2 separate regions of the Homo sapiens genome follow, and region 1 is linked to region 2. Evidence: promoter capture Hi-C in 16 types of primary human blood cells and fetal thymus (Javierre and others, 2016). All regions are on one chromosome and are shown on one strand. The core of a region is centred on a gene start or on the middle of the fragment in contact, and the rest is flanking DNA. Distances in the headings are between cores, read along the strand shown. Region 1 holds the start of DHH (desert hedgehog signaling molecule). Region 2 holds the start of GPD1 (glycerol-3-phosphate dehydrogenase 1).

Region 1 (6,818 bases), core at 1,738-4,237, 1.0 Mb after region 2:
GGACTGGACCTTTGACTTGCTTTTGACTGCCCATCTCCTCTTCTCCAGGGCTGGACAGACTGCCGCTGCCCGTCTCCGGTTTCCCCCAGGCATCTAGGAAGACCCAGCACCAGTGACCTCCAGCTGGGGGTGGGAAGGAAAAAACTGGACACTGCCATCTGCTGCCTAGGCCTGGAGGGAAGCCCAAGGCTACTTGGACCTCAGGACCTGGAATCTGAGAGGGTGGGTGGCAGAGGGGAGCAGAGCCATCTGCACTATTGCATAATCTGAGCCAGAGTTTGGGACCAGGACCTCCTGCTTTTCCATACTTAACTGTGGCCTCAGCATGGGGTAGGGCTGGGTGACTGGGTCTAGCCCCTGATCCCAAATCTGTTTACACATCAATCTGCCTCACTGCTGTTCTGGGCCATCCCCATAGCCATGTTTACATGATTTGATGTGCAATAGGGTGGGGTAGGGGCAGGGAAAGGACTGGGCCAGGGCAGGCTCGGGAGATAGATTGTCTCCCTTGCCTCTGGCCCAGCAGAGCCTAAGCACTGTGCTATCCTGGAGGGGCTTTGGACCACCTGAAAGACCAAGGGGATAGGGAGGAGGAGGCTTCAGCCATCAGCAATAAAGTTGATCCCAGGGTTTGCTTTGTTTTTTTAAAGCACCTGTCTCTGTGTATATTTGAACAGCCTTGCTCCCACCAGCCCGGCGTCTGCCCAGTAAGAGAAGCAGAGGGGTCCTGCCCACCATCCTTTTCCTTCCCCTTCATCTATATTATTACCATCCTTTGGGGACTTGGATCTGGTGTTAGGCCATGCAGTTGGGCAGTGGGAAACTCCTCCATCCTCAGTCTTGCTTAAAGCTGGCTTGTCCCCTGACTCCTCCTTATATTCATGGCCTTGTTTCTGTACCTTGAGTATTGGGGGTAGGACATGGGCATAGGAGTAGGCTAACCTCCCCGATACACTCATACCTTCAGCCCTATCCTCCCTGGCTTAACTATTGGATATAGAGTAAAATAAGTGGCTGGCTGACAAGGATTTTCATTTCCTACCTGAGAGAAGAATCTAGCTTTTTACTAGAGGCCATCAGTTTCTTGAAAAGCCCATGTGCTATGTTGGGAGTAAGAGCGCAAAACTTAGGCTTATACAGATTGTGTATTGCACAGCTTCCAGGGACACCATTCACCTCATAGTCATTGTGTGGATAGTTACTATGATAGTTTTCTAATAAATGTCAGTCATCTTGAGGAAGGGGTGCTTTTTTTTTCTTTTTTCTTCTTCTTTTTTTTTTTTTTTTTTTTGTGAGACAAGGTCTGGCTCTATCACCCTGGCTGGAGTGCAGTGGTGCAATCTCAGCTCACTGCAACCTCCGCATTCTGGGCTCAAGCCATTCTTCCAGCTCAGGCTCCAGAATAGCTAGGACAACAGACACATGCTACCATGCCTGGCTAATTTTTGTATTTTTAGTAGAGATGGGGTTTTGCCATGTTGCCTGGGCTGGTCTTGAACTCCTGAGCTCAAGTGATCCACCTACCTTGGACTCCCCAAATGATGGAATTACAGGGGTTAGCCACAACACCCAGCCATCTTTTTTTTGGGGGGGGGGGTCCTCACTCTGTCACCCAGGTTAGAGTGCAGTGGCATGATCTTAGCTCACTCTACAGCCTTGAACTCTTGCACCCAAGTGATCCTCCTTCCTCAGCCTCCTGAGTACCTAAGACTACAGGCATGTACCACTACCTCCCACTAATTAATTTTTTTTTTTTGAAACGGGGTGTCACTATGTTGACCAAGTTGGTCTTCAACTCATGGCCTCAAGCAGTCCTTGCCTCGCCCCCAAAGTGTTGGGATTACAGGAGTGAGCCACTGTGCCTGGCCTGGTTTTTTCTGATGTACACAAAGTTGCTATGAGTACTAGCCATAGAGTGTGGTGAGGGGAGGGTGAATATGAAACACAAAGTGTAGATTCCACAAATGCTTGCAAAGCACCCTTCTGTAGAGTAGGCACTTAACCTTGGAGATACATGATAAATATGTGTGTGCTTAAGATTGCTTTGTCTAGTAAGGTGCCAGATAATTCTAATACTGTTCTAACACTGCAGTTAAGTAATGGTTCTCGAGGGAACACAGGTGGGCAGTGTTGGGACATCAAGGAAGGCTTCTTAGAAGAAATGACTTCTAAACAAAAGAAATTGGACGTGGTGCCTCTGAGATGAGATCTGAGTGGCTGAAAATGGAGCCCCGGGAGTCCAGAGAGGGAGAAAGCTGGAGAGGTGCCTAGATGGACGGTTAAGGGAAGTGATCCTCACCTCTTACAAAGACTTTTGAGTGTCCACTGCCCTTCAGCAGCTTCCAACTGAGAAGTCATTCATTTGAAAAACAGCAGCTATTAGATGCCTGGCAAAGAAGAGAAGGGGAAAAAAGTTGGAAGTCCTAAATGAGACAATAAGTACCAAGCTCTGTTCCTGGTTCTGGGGAAGTTCCAAAGGAGACTGCAAAGTTAGTAGAGAAATGGGCCCCTGGTATCCTCACCTCCCAGTCCTGCTTAATGCTGAATGTGAGGAGAGATGGAAGTCGGGGAGATCTGGGGAGGACTACAGAGAAGGGAGGCTCTGGTTGTATGCCCAAAGGGCTTGGCTGGTCTTGGGCAGAAATTGGAACCCATACTTCCTGGATGACAGCGGAGGGCATGGCCTGCCAGGGTAGGCTTTGAGAGAGTAAAAATTCCAATTCAAGTATCAGAGGAGGGTGGTTTGGTTCCAAGTTTAAGCTTGGAGGTAGAAGGATGTTTAGGCAGCCAAGGACTGTAAAGCTACAAGTATTTCCTAGGCAGGTGTCTGCCTGGTTTCCAGGATGGGACACACTTCAGTCGCAAAATGGACCAGCAGTGACCGGCTAGATCCCCCGCCCGGGTGGGAGGGGGTGGGACGGTCTTGGGAGAAGGGCGGAGGGCGGGGCCAGGGGCCACTTAAGGCGGAGTCCGGAGTCCGGGCGTTCTGGCAGCACCAGAGTCCTGCAGCAGAGACGGGCTGGGCTGGCACTCACCCACGACCCCCCTTCCCTGCTATGATGGTTTGTCAGTAGCAGGTCCTAGACACCCCCCGCCCGCTCCCGGGGCACGTGGGCAGAGCTAGCAGCAGCCAGGTGCACGGAGCCACAAGAGCTCTAGGGCACTCTGGGGGCAGCTGTGCCTGCTGCCCTCTCTGGTGCCTGTGGAGATGCCTAACTGACAGGAGAGTTAGTGAGGACAAGAACGCTCCCTTTTGGCCGAGGTCCGCTGTATCCATGGCTCTCCTGACCAATCTACTGCCCCTGTGCTGCTTGGCACTTCTGGCGCTGCCAGCCCAGAGCTGCGGGCCGGGCCGGGGGCCGGTTGGCCGGCGCCGCTATGCGCGCAAGCAGCTCGTGCCGCTACTCTACAAGCAATTTGTGCCCGGCGTGCCAGAGCGGACCCTGGGCGCCAGTGGGCCAGCGGAGGGGAGGGTGGCAAGGGGCTCCGAGCGCTTCCGGGACCTCGTGCCCAACTACAACCCCGACATCATCTTCAAGGATGAGGAGAACAGTGGAGCCGACCGCCTGATGACCGAGGTAAGGAGGGCCTCTCCCTACCTGCGCCGGGGCACTGCCAGCTCCTCCGTTTTCCTATGGCAGCCCAGGTGGGTGAGTCCAGCTTCACCTACAGAGAGTTTAGCCTTAGAGATTTCCCTTGTCACCAGCCCCAGGGGGGGGAAAAATCCTTGCAGTCTGGACAGAGTAATTAGGACGGCTCCCGACTAGAATAGTCTGGGATGGGGAGGGGAGGAGGGACTGACTAGTGAGAGTGAAGCTGGTAGAGGCAGCGAGGGCGGGGAAAGGAGGATGGCGGCAGGCGAGACGGGAAATGGCTGAGGCGTGGACCGGGGGTCAGCCACCCAGCCAGGCAGGAAGGGCTGGGGTGAGCTGGGGGCCAGGAGCTGGCTAGGTAGCAGACAGAAGCCTGGCTCCTGACCTGATTGTAGAAAAGCTCTGTGGGCCGAAAAGAAGAGACTGAAAAGGGCTGGGACAGGGGTGGCCAAGGGTCAGGTCACCAGACCATCTACCTGAGGAGGGGCTGGGCAGACATTGCTTTTGGCATGGGAAACGTGTCCTAGAACCAGGACACATCTATTCTAGGGTCTATTCTAGGGCTATCCTAGGGTCTAAACGATAATCTTGGGGTTAAAAAGTAATCCTCAGTGAGAATAACAGATGGACCCACCTGAGAATCAGAGGGCTCCTAAGTCTTCCAAGCTCTGCCTATCTCAGGGGCTTTCCTTGGAATTACATAATTAGGATAAATTCAACTACCATTTTTGAGCATTGGAACCACCTAGAGTGAGGTGGAAGAGAAGGACCACCTCTGGCGAGTGATTTATTTTTTATTTTTTGTAGAGACGGGGTCTTGCCATGTTGCCTAGGCTAGTCTTGAACTCCTGAGCTCAAGGGATCCTCCCACCTCGGCCTCCCAAAGTGCTGGATTACAGGTGTGAGCCACTTCATCCAGCCTGGCCAGTGATCTTGAATGTTAGAACTGAAAGAAAACTTGAGAGATGACATTCCTCCAACCCTCCCCACCCCCACTGCCACCCTCATTTTACATCTGAGAGCTGGACTTCCCCCAGGAGGAAAAGCAATTTAAACTCTCACAATTTAAAGTGGCATGGCTGGGACTAGAATTCAGGACTCCTGATTCTAAGCCCTATATACTTTCCATTACACCACCTAATTGTGTATGGAGTGGGGAGGTGGGGGGAGAGGGAGGGGTACGGATTTCCTCTGATTAATTGCCATAGTTTTCCAGGTTACTTTGTTAGGAAAACCTGTCCAGGGAAGAAATAATTCCTTTTGCTTCTGCCCTGAAGCCTTCCTCCTACCTAGAGATGGGAAAAGGGGCATTCCTTCTTTCCTCCTTGGCCGTGGAACATTGTGGCCCTTTCCTCTGGTTGCCACCTGCAGCAGAGTGGGCAGAACAAGGGACAGGCTCAGGAGGGGCTCCGGCAGGCCTGGGAGCCCCCTCAGTCTTACTTATCTCCCACACCCTGGCTGCAAAAGGCCTCCATTGAGTTGGCTCTGCACTGGGCTGCTGCCCCCGCAGGTCAGGGCCTCGGGGCCTCCTTAGGGGACGAAACGACAAAGTTGGAAGGAGCTACCACTTTTCCTGTTTTCCCCCCACCCAACCCCAACTCTGCGGGGTGGAGGAGACTAGAGGAGAGGGGAAAAGTGTCTTTCTGTTAGGAGAAAACCAAGTCCGAGGTGAGAGGTCGGAGGGGAAAGAAAAAAAGGAAGCTGTCCCTCTGCGCCTCCTCCCGCGGTGTCCCTGCTATGGTGCGCGCCAAGGTCTCCCGCTCCCAGGCTGGAGCGGCCAAGATAACTGTGGTCTCACTCCCCCAGGTGCAGGCTTCCAGCCGCAGCTTCTTTTCCTCTTCTCCGCTCTCACCCTGCAGGGGGCTCCCCAGATCCGCACAAGGAGACCGTTATTCTCAGGTGCTACTCCCACGCCCTTCTGGGCTGCATCTAGAGCAGAGATGGGAGAGATAGGGGCTCTCCGGACTGGCAGAGCCTTAGCTGGAACTGGGAAGACTGGACGCGCGGGGGGAGGGGACCTACCCGGACGGAGCAGGGATTGGGGGCGCGGCTTTCTGCCCTTTCCTCTCCCTGAGCCGGGGCGGCTGAAAAGCGCCTTTGTGGCCGGAGCTGCTGAGTCCGCTTCTCCCAGCGCGTTCCCGGCCTGGGCTCAGGATTCTCGCTCGGTTAAGTCATCCCGGATAATGGCCATTGTACTTCGCGCAACCCCCGCCACCCCAATCCTTTTTCCAGCAGCCTTGATCCCGCACAGCTCCTCTTGGGCACCTCTCTGGGGGGCACCCAGAGCACGAAGGGGTTAATGCTAAGGGCCCAAAGGAGGAGGAGGAAGGAAGGAAGGAAGCGATGCCCGGTGCCAGGGAAGGCAATGAAACAAAAGATGAATCAGGCGGAGGGAGGGGAGCCGGTGCCTGGGGCGGGGGCCAGGCTCAAACAGGGGCTCTCCGGGAGCAACCAGGCCCTCCCTGACCACGCTTCCATTCGCCCTCCTAACTCTGTCCTTCTCCCAGGTTGAGCCGCTGTCCCTGAACCAATAGGGGTGAGGGACGGGCATTAAAAATGGGGAAGGAGCTAGGTATGGGCACCCCCTCTCAACCTCAGAGGTGAGCCCACAGTTCTCCAACGACGTCCTGGGAACAGAGTGCAGATTGGTGACTACCATCGACTCAGATTCTCATTTCTCCAGGACACTCAAAAGCTGGGAGGGGTAAGAGTAGGGCCGGAATAACAAAGAATCAACCCTCCTATCCAGGTCCCTTTTGCCCCAAGGGTGGTGGTGGGGAGACTGACTCCTTTATTCCCCGCCAGCGTTGTAAGGAGCGGGTGAACGCTTTGGCCATTGCCGTGATGAACATGTGGCCCGGAGTGCGCCTACGAGTGACTGAGGGCTGGGACGAGGACGGCCACCACGCTCAGGATTCACTCCACTACGAAGGCCGTGCTTTGGACATCACTACGTCTGACCGCGACCGCAACAAGTATGGGTTGCTGGCGCGCCTCGCAGTGGAAGCCGGCTTCGACTGGGTCTACTACGAGTCCCGCAACCACGTCCACGTGTCGGTCAAAGCTGGTACAGTAGGAGGAGGGTGGTAAAATCCGCCCAAAGGGGGCTCCCTCCGGGAAACTGAGTCTGCAGTAGTACTGTTGCCACCCTAGGGGAGACCAAGCGGGCTTTAGTGTTGAAAACCACCCGTCCAGGCCGAGGCGGTGCCTCACGCCTCTAATCCC
Region 2 (6,814 bases), core at 4,121-6,620:
CCACTCTACCCCCACCCCCACTCACTGCCTAACCCTCCTGTCCCTTGCCCTCCCACCTTGGAGCTCAGGAAGGATGGCTGTGAGTTTCTACCTTCTGAGAATGTGAACTCCCTAGCCCTAGGTTTAAGGTCAGATTGCTAATTGCCCTGCTCCCTACCATGTTGAACTGGCCTGCATGATTCTCTGGCTTGGATTTTCTGTGCCAACTGGGCAACCCACTTTTTTTTTTTTTTTTTTTTTTTTGAGACAGACTCTCGCTCTGTCGCCTAGGCTGGAGCGCAGTGGTGCAATCTTGGCTCACTGCAACCTCCGCCTCCCAGGTTCAAGCGATTCTCCTGCATCAGCCTCCTGAGTAGCTGGGATTACAGGCACACACCACCATGCCTGACTAATTTTTGTATTTTTAGTAGAGATGGGGTTTCACCATGTTGGTCAGGCTGAGCTCAAACTCCTGACCTCGTGATCCACCCACCTTGGCCTCCCAAAGTGCTGGGATTACAGGTGTGAGACACCACACCCAGCCTTGAGCAACCCACTTAACCTCTCTGAGCCTCAGTGTCACCAACTGTAAAATGGGGCCAATATAACAAAGGAATGATTGTGTATGTGAAGATGTAATTAGGTATGATGTGAAAGTGCTTAATAAATACTCATTTCCTTCTTACTGTCCTTTTGCCCAGCTGCTCCCTTTTCCAAGCTTTACCCTGACCAGTCATGAGTGGATATTCTGAACCTGTTTCATACTGTCTTCTTCTAGGAGTCTTTCTCAGACCAGCACAGCTCTGCTCTGATCAGCCCAATCACCCCCGCTGTCTTTCTGAAAACGAGCACCTTGAAGCCCATCCTTCTCCTTACACCTCAGCACCCAGAACAGGATTCAGGGAACAGATGGGTTGGCCTTGGGGAAGAGACTCAAACTAGGGGTGATGGACAGAAGTGGGATGAGCTTATTCCTGCTGCCCCAGAGCTCCAACCCCAGAGCAGAGGACAAGGAAGGAGGGGCACAAAGGGATCCAGGTAATGTAGTGTGAAGAGCACTAGACTGGAAGGAGTTCAAAGACCATGAACTAGCTGGCGGACAATGGGCATGCCAGACTCTGCAAGCTCTGGACTCTGTCTGAAATGTAAGGTAATACTCCCCTTTCTGTCCACTTCACAGATTTGTGGCAGGTTTAGGAAGATGATGAACAGGGCGAGCACTTCTGGCTGTGGCTCCCTTAATCAGTGGGGCTGTGGCCAATACTTACTTGTCTACCAGGCCCTTGTGCTGGAGGATGCTGTATAGCTCCCGGGCTGTCTCGGGCCCCTGCAGTTTCTGCCCATTCAGCAACTCTTTCTCCAGCTGCTCAATGGACTGTGCAGAAAACAGGATGAGTGGATGGAAATGGGAGAGAAGGGTTGTCAGTAGGGGGTGGAGAGACTGGAGCTCAGATGGGAGTGGGGTCTTGGGAGGAAAAGAGGGATGGGGATGTGCACAACAGTCTTAATGTTTGTGCTCCAGAGATGCCTCCCGCCAAGCACCTCTACCTGGATGCCTACAGAGCCGCCCCTCTGTTCTCCCTTCTCCCGGGGCCCACCTTTCCTGTACGCGCAAAGGCCTCAGCCACTTTCCGGTTCCGCCCTCCATAGCAGGTAGTGATCAGGTCAGCAACACCACAGCTCTCCAAGAAGGTGGCAGAGGACACAGGGCCACTGCAGAAGAGCTTGGCGAAGGCTATCATCTCCATGAGTCCCAGCCGGATCACTGCCGCCTTGGTGTTGTCGCCAAAGCCCAGGCCATCACAGAAGCCAGCCCCCACGGCCACTACATTCTTGAAGGAGTGGAGGTCATAGGTGAGAAAAGACCCCCTCCTATAGGCCCCATGTGGAGCCCCCTCATACTCATTTCATCAGCCGTGACACCCACTGCAGAAGAGAGGTATAGTGTGTGGCCTTTTAGAAGCCTACTTCCGCCTCTTGGTTTCCCCCCTTGCTGCACCCCCTTTCTTAAGCCCTGCCCCATACTCCCTCCTCGAGGACATTTTCTGAAAACCACTCTTCTCTCTAGTTGATCTTCCCATCTATGACCATTCCATTGTACAGCCCTCAAGTCAACAGCTGTCCAGGATCCATAGTTCTGGCCATTAGTCTGTCTGGGTGTCAAGGATGTTTTGTCTCCCATTAGCCTGGGCATCTCCTTGTCCCCCTGGACCACCTCCTGGAGCCAGAGGGTGGGGAGTCCCACACGGGGCTAAAATGGGACAGGAGCAAGGGGGTCCACGGTCTGATGATGAATAATCAGCCGGCCTGAATGGCCCTGGCCTTGCTTCTGCAGCTCCTCCTATATGCATGGGACATGGTAGGAAAGGGGAACCACTGCTCAATAGTGAGAGCCTGGAGTACCTGCAGCCTTGCAGAGCTCAGCCAGACCTCCTTTGGGGCCTTCTCCTCACCCCATAGCTGCCTCTGTGCCCCTCTCACCTTTAAGGCTCCACAGATCTCTACTGTGTCCACCTCTTGCACCACTGTGATACGGAAGTTTGGTGTCTGCATCAGCTCTTTCAGGAGTTGTCCCTGGGCCGGGTCCTTGCAGCCTAAAGTGAGGAGGGGGCAAGGCTTTGAGGGAAGGACTCTTTTTAAAAAATATTTATTTTATAGAGATGGGAGTCTCTCTCTGTTGCCCAGGCTGGACTCAAACTCCTGGGCTTAAGCGATCCTCCCACCTCAGCCTCTTAAGTAGCTGGGACCACAGGTGTGCCACTGCACCAACTCTGAGGGAGGGCTCATCACTGTGTTTCCCTAAGCAGGCCCTGAAGCCCCTTCCCTGGGGGTGTCCCAGCCTCCTTCACCTCTGATGCTTGTATTTTCCTTTCTCTGCCTTATGGGAAAGAGATGGCTAAGTGGGGTTGGGGCAGTTTGGGGAGGGGATGCAACTAGATGCACTGTGTATGCAGGTGCCAGGGGGCTCTCACCAATGGTTGTCTCACAGAACTTCTCATCAGCCACCTCGCTGGCAATGTTGGCCCCCATCAGCACACTCATGGGGATGCCGAGGCGCTCCCCAATCACTTCCGAGATGAGCTTCAGCCCATTGGGGCCCTCGTCTACCCCCTGAGCACAGGATGGAGCTCAGGCCAGGTGCCCTTTGGGCCCACCTGCGGGCTTCCGCCCAGAAATTCTGTCCCTTCCAAATCCATTGCTCATCTGTGTCCCTCCCGACAGGTCCTGCCCCATTCCAACCCAGCTCAAGTTTGCTGTGAGGAGGCCAGACAGCATGTGACCAACTGTCCTGCCACATACCCTCAACCAGTCTACTTCTCCAAGGCAACGGGTCCCCTCCACATCCCTAGGCAACCCCGCCTGACTGCCCCAACAAACTGCCATTCAGTGACCAGTCACTGCTCCAAACCAGCTACTCTTCACACTTCTCAAACCAGCCCGCTTCTCATATCTCCCAGGCATTCCTTTATACCTCCGAAACTCCCCGAGAGGACCTCCAAACCAATCTCGTCTCCTCCCTTCAGCCTCCCTTCCAGTGACCCCCAGCACCTCACTGCTTTCCTAAGCCTCTCCAGAGCCAACTGCCTCTCTTTTCTCCAGCAAACTCTTGGCCTGCGTCTGCCATTTTCTGTTCTCCTTGCTTCACCCACCCTGAACCCCACAACAGTGAGCCGCACCCTCCCCCATCCACATGAAGGTGTCCCTGGCACCTTAATAAGAGATATGCCAGTGGCGTTTGCCTTCAGATGGCCCTTGAGCTGGTCACAGATCTTGCCGATGAACTGATGGGGCACCACAAAGATCAGGATGTCAGCATCCTCTGCAGCCTGGACCACATCTGGGACAGCCACCTGTGGGGGTGACCAAGTGCTCGCGGGCCTGGCAGACCTCCCCTAGCCCCTGTGGAACCCTATTCAGGAGATCTGGGAGCCAAAGAGTGAGGCTGGTAGGGGAGCAGGAAGGCTTGTTTGGGACTGAATCTAGAAGGACTGAACTTGGAGGAATAAGACACTCTACTCCCTCCCCCCAGCTACCACTCTGTCTCCCTCCAGCTGTCCTGGGCTCTTGAGGACTCCTGGAAACCTCATCCCAGCACTCTCCTATCCCTTGGCTGTGGGACAGTGCGGGAGGCCAAAAGCAGCCTGGGCTTGGCAAAAGAAAGAGCTCAAATAAGATTTCATCACCCAGCTCCTCAGGAACCCCAGCTGGGAAGGGGGAGCCCCAGCCTTTCTGCTCTCTTCCCTGCTTCCCCTTTCCAGGTGGGGAGAGCCACGTGGATTTGACCAAAGACCGTAAGTCCAAGGAGCAGCCTCCAAGTCGGCTACTCACTCAGTGAATGAGTAACAGGATTAGTGCCGGAGGCAGGCACTACTGGACCCCAAGTCTGGGAGCCCAGTCTTTGGCTGCCATGGAGACCAACTTGTTCTCCCATCCCTTCCCCACCCACCCGCCTGGGAGCCTGTGAGGGGAAAGCATAGGTTCTCCTCAGTCCTCAGGAAAGGGCCCAGAGCAGCCCTCCTGAGACCTTCCCAAGTCCTGCTGCACCTGAAGCGGCCCTCTCAGCAGGAGGCACCTGTTGAGTAAGGTCGGCTCCAACTCCTGGCCCTCCCTTCCTCTCCCTGTTCTTCGCAGGGTGTTGGGGCTCACCACATTTGGGGGCAACTTGTGCCCTGGCAGGTATTTGACATTCTCATGCTGCGTGTTGATGATCTCAGTCAGCTTTTTGCCTCCAATGTCTTCCTCAAATACCCACATGGTCACCCGTGGGTCAAACTGTGCCAGCTGGGCTGCATTGCCACCCACGATCTTGGCGATGGCTGAGCCCCTGGTGGGAGGGGGAGCACAGGAAAGTACAGGAGGAGGGAACAGTGGCAGGAGTTGGGGCAGCGCCCCACCTCAGGATCTCACAGCAGCCCCCCAGGCTGTTCACTCCTACCTACCTTCCTTATCACCTCCACTCCCATGACAAATAGTCCCCAGTGACCTGGCAGTAGAAAGGAGACTCAGTCTCCTCACCCTTTGCTACTAGAGAAGGGAGCCCCACTTCTCATCTTCCCACCCCCAAACTCAAGCGGCTCTTCACATAGAGAGCTCTGGAGACGCCTTCCCATGGTGAACAGGTGCAGCTGCCCAGGAGGGCGGGGGTCAGGAGAGGGCCGGGCACCGTCTGTCCTGTGCTGCTATGATAGAAGATAGCAGCAGGGGCTGAACAGGAACCTGAGGGCCTTTCCCACCCATTCTGCCTCCTACCCACCTCTGTCTTGGGGGGCCTACCCTTCCCCCATATCACTTGACAGAGCTGCTTACCAGTTCCCGGAGCCTACAATGCAGACTTTCTTGCTAGCCATGGTGCCGCGTCTCTGCCTGAGCCGGCTCAGTGCCACACTCCCTAGCTCCTCTGCCGGCTAGGAGCATTTAACTCCACCACACGTGGGTGCAGCCAAGCCCCGCCCTCCAGGGGTGGGTGGGGAGGCTGGCGCCCAGGGAGATAGAGAGTCTGGCAGAGCCAGGGAAAGGAGAGACAGGGGTACAGACAGGTGTGGAACAGGAATGGGGCAGAGACTAGGCCCAGCTTTTTCTCCTGGGCTCATCGGCTGACAGTGCTGGCAAGCTTCTTCCCTTGGCCCCAGCCCAGCTTCCCACCATGGTCTCATTTTGAGGTCTGCTAAGAAAATAGCCCAGATAAGGAGCAGGTGACTGCTCTCCCTTGCTCCTTTCTGTCCCCCAGCATGAAATAAATTGTATTTAGCTTCAGTAGCAGCTAGGGGAATGCTTTTCAGAGGTAGGCTCCTCCATGACCCCCTATCCCCCCGCCAACCCTGCCACATATCCTCACAGGACCCTGTTCCACAGTTCTGTCCTCCAGCAGGCCCACGCTAGCTCCACTGCAGGGCTGGGGTGGGGGATGTGGGCCCACTTCCCACCTCTAAAGATGAGGCCACATAAGAGGTAAGGGCCTGCTTTGAGGACAGCCCAGCTCAAAAAAGGATGAGAGACTCCAGGTGCCTCAAAAGACAAGATTGTCTTGGTCACCCACAGAGGTCATCTTGGGGACTCATCCATGGGCCTCTCAGATGATCCCCACCCAAAAATGTGTTCTAGGGAAGGTGGGAAAGGTTAAAGTTAGAGAGCTCTGAGAATTGCGGTACACAATTTTGTTGTAGACTCTGGGCTTAAGAGGACAGGAGAGAATAGGAGGCAGGCAGAGTGCACACTGTCCTTGAAAGGCTTTGAGCCTCCTTCAACTCCTCCTCTCAGGGGTTTCCAAGGTACTGCCCCAGGGGCTTCATCAGGTGAATGGCTAGTTTGCAGAGGCCAGAAAAGGGGAAGGCAGGCAGTACCCGGGGCAGCTGTGTCCGTGGGGCTTTGTGGTCTCAGATGCTGTGATTGGGGGTAAGTTTGGTGTATGTTTTTTGGGGAAGGGCGAGAATGGAAGGAGCACCCTCAGCAGTTCAGGGCTCTGCATCGCCCACGGCCATCTGTTTGTCTAAGACGAGGGAAGCTCTGGTTTCCAGGCTGATCTGGAGAGTGGAGCAAGAGGCTCCTAACACTGTGCACCTTGGCCTAGAGGGCAGACACCACTGTGTGCTCATGTGCTGACCTCCTGGCTTGGCAGACGGCTAGGTGGGTGTTGCCATCCCCCTGGGCTGTTGCTGGCCAGCAACTGGTAACAAGCACTGGGCTACAGGGGAGTCTGTGTGCAACCCATGGGTAGGAGTAAGCAGGCAGGAGGTCAAGACTGGGGAGAAATGGCTTTCTAAGTTCCGGGGACTGCCCAGGAAAAACCAACCATATTCTCCTTCCATGGCCAGTAATTTCCCATAGGGAAACGGAC

The links. Contacts are between HindIII fragments. The CHiCAGO score rates a contact against its expected background, and 5 or more counts as called.
Region 1: a contact is called between the fragment with the promoter of DHH here and the fragment with the promoter of GPD1 in region 2, in 1 of 17 cell types (total CD4 T cells). The highest score is 5.8, in total CD4 T cells.

What each region holds. Positions count from the first base shown.
Region 1 is chr12:49,090,970-49,097,787 of GRCh38, reverse strand. It overlaps DHH (desert hedgehog signaling molecule), which reads left to right and starts at 2,987. Exons shown (of 3, transcript NM_021044.4): 1 at 2,987-3,578; 2 at 6,399-6,660. The coding sequence starts at 3,276. It overlaps DHH-AS1 (DHH antisense RNA 1), which reads right to left and starts at 5,694. Exons shown (of 4, transcript XR_007063295.1): 1 at 5,446-5,694; 2 at 4,883-4,958; 3 at 3,600-3,666; 4 at 2,044-2,387. It overlaps LMBR1L (limb development membrane protein 1 like), which reads left to right. Exons shown (of 17, transcript NM_018113.4): 17 at 49-649. The coding sequence ends at 116. RefSeq lists a cis regulatory region at 5,033-5,050, an enhancer at 4,970-5,114 and a silencer at 5,973-6,155. The HindIII fragment of the contact is 10,631 bases long and covers 2,763-6,818 here.
Region 2 is chr12:50,102,564-50,109,377 of GRCh38, reverse strand. GPD1 (glycerol-3-phosphate dehydrogenase 1) reads right to left here and starts at 5,370. Exons shown (of 8, transcript NM_005276.4): 1 at 5,287-5,370; 2 at 4,627-4,804; 3 at 3,690-3,830; 4 at 2,952-3,090; 5 at 2,461-2,573; 6 at 1,578-1,811; 7 at 1,248-1,354. The coding sequence starts at 5,327. RefSeq lists an enhancer at 6,311-6,360. The HindIII fragment of the contact is 4,893 bases long and covers 700-5,592 here.